2 separate regions of the Homo sapiens genome follow, and region 2 is linked to region 1. Evidence: promoter capture Hi-C in human tissues and cell types (Jung and others, 2019). All regions are on one chromosome and are shown on one strand. The core of a region is centred on a gene start or on the middle of the fragment in contact, and the rest is flanking DNA. Distances in the headings are between cores, read along the strand shown. Region 1 holds the start of CLN5 (CLN5 lysosomal BMP synthase). Region 2 overlaps SLAIN1 (SLAIN motif family member 1).

Region 1 (4,428 bases), core at 1,023-3,522:
TGAGTTAAGACCAATACTAGGGCCAGGCATGGTGACTACAGCCTGTAATCCCAGCACTTTTGGAGGCCGAGGCAGGTGGATTACTTGAGGTCAGGAGTTCGAGACCAGCCTGGCCAACATGGTGAAACCTCGTCTCTACCAAAAAAAAAAAAAAAAATTACAACTGGCACACACTTGTACCCAGCCACTAGGGAGGCTGAGGCAGGAGAATTGCTTGAACCCGGGAGGCGGAGGTTGCAGTGAGCCGAAATCACATCACTGCACTCCAGGCTGGGTGACAGAAGGAGACTCCGTCTCCAAAAAAATAAAAAATAAAAACCAATACTAGGAAGTGCTTTCTTACCATGAAAGCTCCCTGCACACAGAATGAAGAGACAGATGGCAGAAGCAAGACCAGAGGCCTCCACCACTGAACAAGGTCAACCTGAATTTGTTTTTGTAGCTCTGGGAAGTCCTGAACTGAATGGGAGGTTCTACTGTGGCCCTCTACTAACAGTAGATGGAACCTGGAACCATCTACTGTTAATTGTCCTTTTAGTAGCCAAGACATGAAGTACCTATCTCCCTTCTTTGTATTTGGTGAAAAGATTTGAACTCGAGCCATCTCTGCTAAAGGCATGACTTTAGTCACCCCACTGCAGTTGCTTCTCTTTGCCTCCAAGAAAGTCCAATCTGATGGGCAGATTGTGCTTGCAGATGACTGGATTAAACTGCAAATATCTCATGAAGCTGCTGCCTGCATCACCGCTCTCCAGGCAGCCACGGAGGCTCTGGTTGTTGAGGCCATCTACTGTGGCCCTCATACATCATACTGTGTATGGTTCCAGGATTTGTAAATGCTCTAATCAATGTTTTTTTTTTTTTTTAAAGCTGTTCCTGCTGATTGCTTTTTAAGCTAGGCTCAAGTGTGGGGCCACGGAATCCTTCAGGTGCCCTTCAAATCAGACATTACATTTCAGCTCTCAGGGCTAGAATGCTTCCCCCTCTTATCTTGGGCAGGTCTTTGAAGAAGCCAGTTTAGCCTTGGTAATTTTGAATTTGGCCATAGTATACGGAGGAGAGCTAGGTAGCTATCAAAACGCTTAGACAAACGTATGGTAAAATGCAGCCCAGCCTGAACCTCCGCAAAACCCCCAAACCTGGAGCAGCAAGTGGGCAAAGGAGTGTGTGTTTGGGGCAGGGTACTGAGTCCCATATGTAATCAAGAGACCTGGAGGGCCCAAGGAAGTCAGTGACACCCCCACAAGCTACATATCCTCCAATGGATTGTGGTGGTCATCTCCGGCTACCGAAGCCACCTTGCTTATTCCCATAGGCTTACAAACATTATGATGCTTCACACGAGTTGTGGGTGAAGTGAAGGAATTGGAAAGTCCCGGTCTAAGGCCCTGCAAAACTGCTGTCTGGTAAAAACAAGTGACTATGGCAAGGCCCTGAATGTACTACGTATAGACTTAAGTCAGTATTTGTGCCTAACAGCAAAGCATGCCACAAGAGGCTCCTCAAAAGCCGGGTAATTGATGCCATTGTTTTCTTGACCTAGTTGAAGAGTCAAAGAAGAGAAGGTGATGCAGAAACTTCTTTCCAGTGAAGTGACAGATCCAAGCAAGGAACACCTGCCTGTGAGGGGAGCGGTAGGGGAGGGGGTAGATTCGGCAGCACTCGGGTAGTGGCAGGGACCACATATTGTCGGTGTTAACCACTGTTATCACTGGCCCAGGTCGAGTGAGGACGAGTCATTTCCCCACTAAGCACTTGGGGAGTGGCAGGGACCACATATTGTCAGTGTTAACCACTGTTATGACTGGCCCAGGTCGGGTGACGACGAGCCATTTCCGCACTATTGTCCCTTCTTCCTCACTGCACCCCCAGCCCTGCACCCTCAGCTCCAAATACACATTCTCGTTCACTCAACGTTTGTTGACACCTAGCGTGGGCCCTGTGGGATGGGGTAAAAGTTCGGTGTTGGGAGGAGCCCCGGTGACAGATTTTTGGTTTTGGTGGTGGCTTTTGGGCAAGGACAGGTCAATTCATAAAAGATGACGCCCCAGGTCTGGATCGAATTCTCCTGGGAGCCAGACCAAAGCACCTTCCTGGACTGCAAAGTGTGGAAGCCGCCGCGGGCCGGGCGCGGGGAGGTGTCATGCGCCGGAACCTGCGCTTGGGGCCAAGCTCTGGAGCTGACGCGCAGGGGCAAGGCGCCCCGCGTCCCGGACTGGCGGCTCCGCGCATGCTCCTCCCACCGGCGTCGCAGGCCTCGAGAGGCTCCGGAAGTACTGGGTGCAGCCTGATGGCGCAGGAGGTAGACACGGCACAGGGCGCCGAGATGCGGCGGGGCGCGGGCGCGGCTCGGGGACGCGCTTCCTGGTGCTGGGCCCTGGCGCTGCTTTGGCTCGCGGTGGTTCCGGGCTGGTCCCGGGTCTCGGGCATCCCCTCCCGGCGCCACTGGCCGGTGCCCTACAAGTGAGTGCGGCGGCGCGCGCACTGTCGGGGTTGGGGTCGGCGTTGACGATGGGGGATGGGGTGCTGGGGCGGGGACCCCTGCTCACCGTGGTTTGTGTCGGGTCACGAGATGGTGCGGGGACAGCGCCGGGTGACGCTCGGAGCGCACTTGAGAGCAAAGTTGAGGACTGGGGAGTCGCAGCCGCTCGTTACGTGCAGCCCTGGGACCTTTCGTCCCCTCTGGTCACTTGCGGCAGACTCAGGACAGTCCTGAATCGTGGAAGAAGAAAAGGAGAGTAATGTTATTTAATGGAGGGACTTCTGGGTACAAGTAGCTGATTTCTTGAGTAGTTTAAAAACACTGTCTATCGCATTTATTTATATCATGCACTGTCGTTAGTTATTACCGCGGAACATTTGGTACAATTTACTGGGCGACCAACTCGCTCTGGTTTGAACCTGATCAGAACCTGATCCGAAGTCCTTATTGGGACTTCCCAGTTTTGCCCTCAAAAGTCGCGCATCCCGGGAATCCCCGTCTCCTGCAGTCCTGGTTAGACCGGGAAGATTGTCACCGCTTTTGTCCAGTCTTCAGCCTGGAGGTAGGACGCCGGTCCTAAGTCGGGGACAGAGCCCGCACACCTGGGAGGTCGATTCCAGCCTTTGACAGAGAAGACACAGCCTCCGGCGGTCAGAGATAGCTAAACACAGAGAAAGAAAACATGGTGTCAACATCAGGCAGGAGAAAGACCAGCAGTTTTTGAAAACAGCTATTTTTCTTTAAACCAAAAGCATCATTGGACATAATTTTAACTTACTAGCATAAGTAATCAACAGCTAAAACTGCACACAACAAACCTGAAAAAAACAGCTATTTTGTATGACAGTATGAGTGGGAAGGAGTTCTGCCTGCTGCGGGTCAAATCTGGCTCTGTCATCACCAGGGATCTTGGGAAAGTTACTCAGAATCTCTGTGCCCACATGCCCTGAGTCAAAAAATAGGAATAGTGGTAGCACGTACCTCATAGGTTTGCTGGAAGGATTAAATCTAGTAAAATGCCAGCTGTTGTCAAACCTAGATAGTGTATTCTGCTCACTGAAATGTTTACAACACTTTTTTGTTTTGTGTGATATACTACGTGGAAAGAGAAGTTTGTGGTTGAAGCTAGTTTTCTGGAAAATGTTAATAATAAAATGTTTGTAAGAAGTCAAAATTACTCAATAGAACAAGAATTGTAAATCCAAACGATTTGATTTAACATTAGGGCAAGGTGTTGACTATGGCTTTTTAGTGGATTTTTTTTTTAAGTCTCAGATATTAAGTACGTGCTCCCATCTAATTCCCTCAATTGAATATAATATTTAAGTTTATTAAGTTCACACTTAAATTACCTTTGAACTAAAATAGATTTTGCTGTGTCAGTGAAATCTCCATGTGATTATGTATTTGTTTAAACCAGGTAAGTGCCTATAAAACACTGTACCCAAGTAGCAGAAACTTTTGGGAGCGTCGTTAATAGTTTCGATTAGCATAAAGATTTTAACTTCTTAAGTTAAAATAGAAATTTTTGTTGATTTGTTAAGATTTGTTAGATCTGGCTACAACCTTGGGGATCTAGGATTCTTAGATAGAAGCTGTTGTCGCCACCACTTCTTTCTTTCCCAGTGCCAGATTATAGGTGACCAGTGTGTCTGTTGAGCTGAATTCAGCTGCAGTGCCCCTCGAGTCCTATTGCTGTGGCCTTCTCCGGTCTTCTTTTCTTGCCTGCATTGTTGAGGTCACCTTCTAACTGATCTCTCATGTTTTATTTGGCCTCTCTCCATACCCTCTTTTAATTCGTGAAATAAGGTTTACTTTATAGCAAATTCAGTCCTGTCAGATCTGCTACTTAACATCCTTTAAGTTTAGCCCTCCCCAATTATAAGGCAGGGAATTCCATGCACATTCTCCTAGTGACAAAATGACAGCCCCTGCCAGTCTCTTCC
Region 2 (4,428 bases), core at 878-3,377, 720 kb after region 1:
AGAGATTGAAGATCACCTTAATGAAATAAAGCATGAAGACAAGATTAGAGAAAAACAAATGAAAAGGAATTAACAAAGCCTCCAAGAAATATGGGACTATGTGAAAAGACCAAACCTACATTTGGTGTACCTGAAAGTGACTGGGAGAATGGAACCAAGTTGGAAAACACTCTTCAGGATATTATCCAGGAGACCTTTCCCAACCTAGCAAGACAGGCCAACATTCAAATGCAGGAAATACACAGAACACAACAAAGATACTCCTCGAGAAGAACAACTCCAAGACACAAAATTGTCAGATTCACCAAGGTGGAAATGAAGGGAATAAAGTTAAGAGCAGCCAAAGAGGAATTACCCACAAAGGGAAGCCCATTAGACTAACAGCGGATCTCTCTGTAGAAACCCTACAAGCCAGAAGAGAGTGGGGGCCAATATTCAACATTCTTAAAGAAAAGAATTTTCAACCCAGAATTTCATATCCAGCCAAATGAAGCTTCAAAAGCGAAGGAAAAATAAAATCCTTTACAGACAAGCTAATGCTGAGAGATTTTGTCACCTCCAGTCCTGCCTTACAAGAGCTCCTGAAGGAAGCACTAAATATATTGTTGTTGTTGTTGTTGTTTTTGAGACAGAGTCTCACTCTGTCACCCAGGCCGGAGTGCAATGGCGCGATCTCGGCTCACTGCAACCCCCGCCTCCCAGGTTCAAGTGATTCCTCTGCCTCTGCCTCCTGAGTAGTTGGGATTACAGGCACCCACTACCAGGCCTGGGTAATTTTTTGTATTTTTAGTAGAGGCGGGGTTTTGCCACATTGGTCAGGCTGGTCTTGAACTCCTGACCTCAGATGATCTGCCAGGCTCAGCCTCCCAAAGTGCTGGGATTACAGGTGTGAGCCACCGCATCTGGCCTTGGAAGAACTAACAATGGAAAGGAAAAACCAGTACCAGCCACTGCAAAAACATACCAAATTGTAAAGACCAGTGATACTATGAAGAAACCACATCAACTAATGGGCAAAATAACCAGCTGGCATCATAATGACAGGATCAAATTCACACATAACAATATTAACCTTAAACGTAAATGGGATAAATACCCCAATTAAAAGACACAGATTGGCAAATTGTATAAAGAGTCAAGACCCATTGGTGTGCTGTATTCAGGAGACCCATCTCACATGCAAAGGCACATATAGGCTCAAAATAAAGGGATGGAGGAATATTTACCAAGCAAATGGAAAACAAAAAAAAACAAAACAAAAAAACATGGGTTGCAATCCTAGTCTCTGATAAAACAGACTTTAAACCAACAAAGATCAAAAGAGACAAAGAAGGGCATCACATAATGGTAAAGGGATCAGTGCAACAAGAAGAGCTAACTATCCTAAATATATATCCACCCAATACAGGAGGACCCAGATTCATAAAACAAGTTCTTAGAGACCTACAAGGAGACTTAGACTCCCACACAATAATAGTGGGAGACTCTAACACCCCACTGTCAATATTAGATCAATGAGACAGAAAATTAGCAAGGATATTCAGGACTTGAACTCAGCTGTGGACCAAGTGGGCCTAATAGACATCTACAGAACTCTCCACCCCAAATCAACAGAATATACATTCTTTTCAGCACCATGTCACACTTATTCTAAAATTGACCACATAATTGGAAGTAAAACACTCCTCAGCAAAGGCAAAAGAATGGAAATCATAACAGTCTCTCAGACCACAGTGCAATCAAATTAGAACGCAGGATTAAGAAACTGACTGAAAACCGCACAATTACATGGAAACTGAACAACCTGCTCCTGAATGACTACTGGGTAAATAAAGAAATTAAGGCAGAAATAAGTTCTTTAAAACCAATGAGAACAAAGACACAATGTCCCAGAATCTATGGGACACAGCTAAAGCAGTGTTCAGAGGGAAATTTATAGCACTAAATGCCCACCAGAGAAAGCAGGAAAGATCTCAGATCAACACCCTAATATCACAATTAACAGAACTAGAGAAGCAAGAGCAAACAAATTCAAAAGCTAGCAGACAACAAGAAATAACTAAGCAGAACTGAAGGAGATAGAGACATGAAAAACCCTTTTAAAAAGTTAATGAATCCAGGAGCTGGTTTTTTGAAAAGACCAACAAAATAGATAGACCGCTAGCCAGACTATTAAAGAAGAAAAGAGAGAAGAATCAAATACACACAATAAAAAATGATAAAGGGGATATCACCACTGATCCCACAGAAATACAAACTACCATCTGAGAATACTATAAATACCTCTATGAAAATAAACTAGGAAATCTAGAAGAAATGGATCAATTTCTGGACACAAACACCCTCCCCAGACTAAACCAGGAAGAAGTCGAATCCCTGAATAGACCAGTAATAAATTCTGGAATTAAGGCAGTAATTAATAACCTATCAACCAAAAAAAGCCCAGGATCAGATGGATTCAGAGCCAGATTCTACCAGAGGTGCAAAGAGGAGCTGGTACCATTCCTTCTGAAACTATTCCAAACAATAGAAAGAGAGGGGCTCCTCCCTAACTCATTTTATGAGACCAGCATCATCCTGATACCAAAACCTGGCAGAGACACAAATAAAAAAGAAAATTTCAGCCCAATATCCCTGATGAACATCGATGTGAAAATCCTCAGTAAAATACTGGCAAATCGAATCCAACAGCACATCAAAAAGCTTATCCACCACGGTCAAGTCGGCTTCATCCCCGGGATGCAGGGCTGGTTCAACATATGCAAATCATAAACATAATCATCACATAAACAGAACCAATCACAAAACCACATAATTAATAGGTGCAGAAAAAGGCATCGATAAAATTTATCACCCTTTCATGCTTAAAAACTCTCAATAAACTAGGTATTGATGGAATGTATCTCAAAATAATAAGAGCTATTTATGACAAACCCACAGCCAGTATCATACTGAATTGGCAAAAGCTGGAAGCATTCCTTTTGAAAACTGGCACAAGACAAAGATGCCCTCTCTCACCACTCCTATTCAACATAGTATTGGAAGTTCTGGCCAGGGCAATCAGACAAGAGAAAGAAAGAAATGGTATTCAAATAGGAAGAGAGGAAGTCAAATTGTCTCTGTTTGCAGATGACATGATTGTATATTGAGAAAACCCCATCATCTCAGCCCAAAATCACCTTAAGCTGATAAGCAACTTCAGCAAAGTCTCAGGATACAAAATCAATGTGCAAAAAATCACAAGTATTTCTATACACTAATAATGAACAGCCAAATCATGAGTGAACTCCCATTCACAATTGCTACAAAGAGAATAAAATATCTAGAAATACAACTCACAAGAAATGTGAAGGACGTTTTCAAGTACTACAAACCAGTGCTCAAGGAAATCAGAGCGGACACAAACAAATGGAAATACATTCCATGCTCATGGATAGGAAGAATCAATATCGTCAAAATGGCCATACTGCCCAAAGTAATTTATAGATTCAGTGCCATCCCCATCAAGCTACCATTGACTTTCTTCACATAATTAGAAAAAACTATTTCAAATTTCATATGGAACCAAAAAAGAGCCCATATAGCCAAGACAATCCTAAGCAAAAAGAACAAAGCTGGAGGTATCATGCTACCTGATTTCAAACTCTACTACAAAGCTACTGTAACCAAAACAGCATGGTACTGGTACCAAAACAGATATATAGACCAATGGAACAGAACAGAGGCCTCAGAAATAATGCCACACATTTACAACCATCTGATCTTTGACAAACCTGACCAAAACAAGTAATGGGGAAAGGATTCCCTATTTAATAAATGGTGCTGGGAAAACTGGCTAGCCATATGCAGAAAACTGAAACCAGACCCCTTCCTTACACCTTATGCAAAAATTAACTCAAGATAGATTAAAGATTTAAACGTAAGACCTAAAACCGTAAAAACCCTAGAAGAAAACCTGGGCAATACCATTCAGGACATGGGCATGGGCAAAGACTTCATGAGTAAAACACCAAGAGCAATGGCAACAAAAGCCAAAATTGACAAATGGGATCTAATTAAACTAAAGAGCTTATGCAGCCTACTGAATGGGAGAAAATTTTTGCAATCTATCCACCTGACAAAGCGCTAATATCCAGAATCCACAAGGAACTTAAACAAATTTACAAGAAAAAAACAACCCCATCAAAAAGTGGGCGAAGGATATGAACAGACACTTCTCAACAGAAGACATTTATGCGGCCAGCAAACATGAAAAAAAGCTCATCATCACTGGTCATTAGAGAAATGTAAATCAAAACCACAATGAGATAGCATCTCACACCAGTTAGAATGGCGATCATTAAAAAGTCAGGAAACAACAGATGCTGGAGAGGATGTGGAGAAATAGGAACACTTTTACACTGTTGGTGGGAGTGTAAATTAGTTCAA

Evidence for each region. The method cuts DNA at HindIII sites, captures the fragments that hold promoters and counts their contacts. A contact is called where the count stands out against the background at its distance.
Region 2: a contact is called between a fragment that was not itself captured here and the fragment with the promoter of CLN5 in region 1, in 1 of the 25 tissues and cell types used here (dorsolateral prefrontal cortex).

What each region holds. Positions count from the first base shown.
Region 1 is chr13:76,989,809-76,994,236 of GRCh38, forward strand. It overlaps CLN5 (CLN5 lysosomal BMP synthase), which reads left to right and starts at 2,273. Exons shown (of 4, transcript NM_006493.4): 1 at 2,273-2,463. The coding sequence starts at 2,291. RefSeq lists silencers at 1,607-1,696, 1,787-1,856, 2,317-2,556 and an enhancer at 2,578-3,777. The HindIII fragment of the contact is 12,191 bases long and covers 1-4,428 here.
Region 2 is chr13:77,709,164-77,713,591 of GRCh38, forward strand. The region is part of intron 1 of SLAIN1 (SLAIN motif family member 1); the gene reads left to right. Among named protein-coding and RNA genes, the nearest start is that of MIR3665, 13 kb to the left of the region's middle. The HindIII fragment of the contact is 5,702 bases long and covers 1-4,428 here.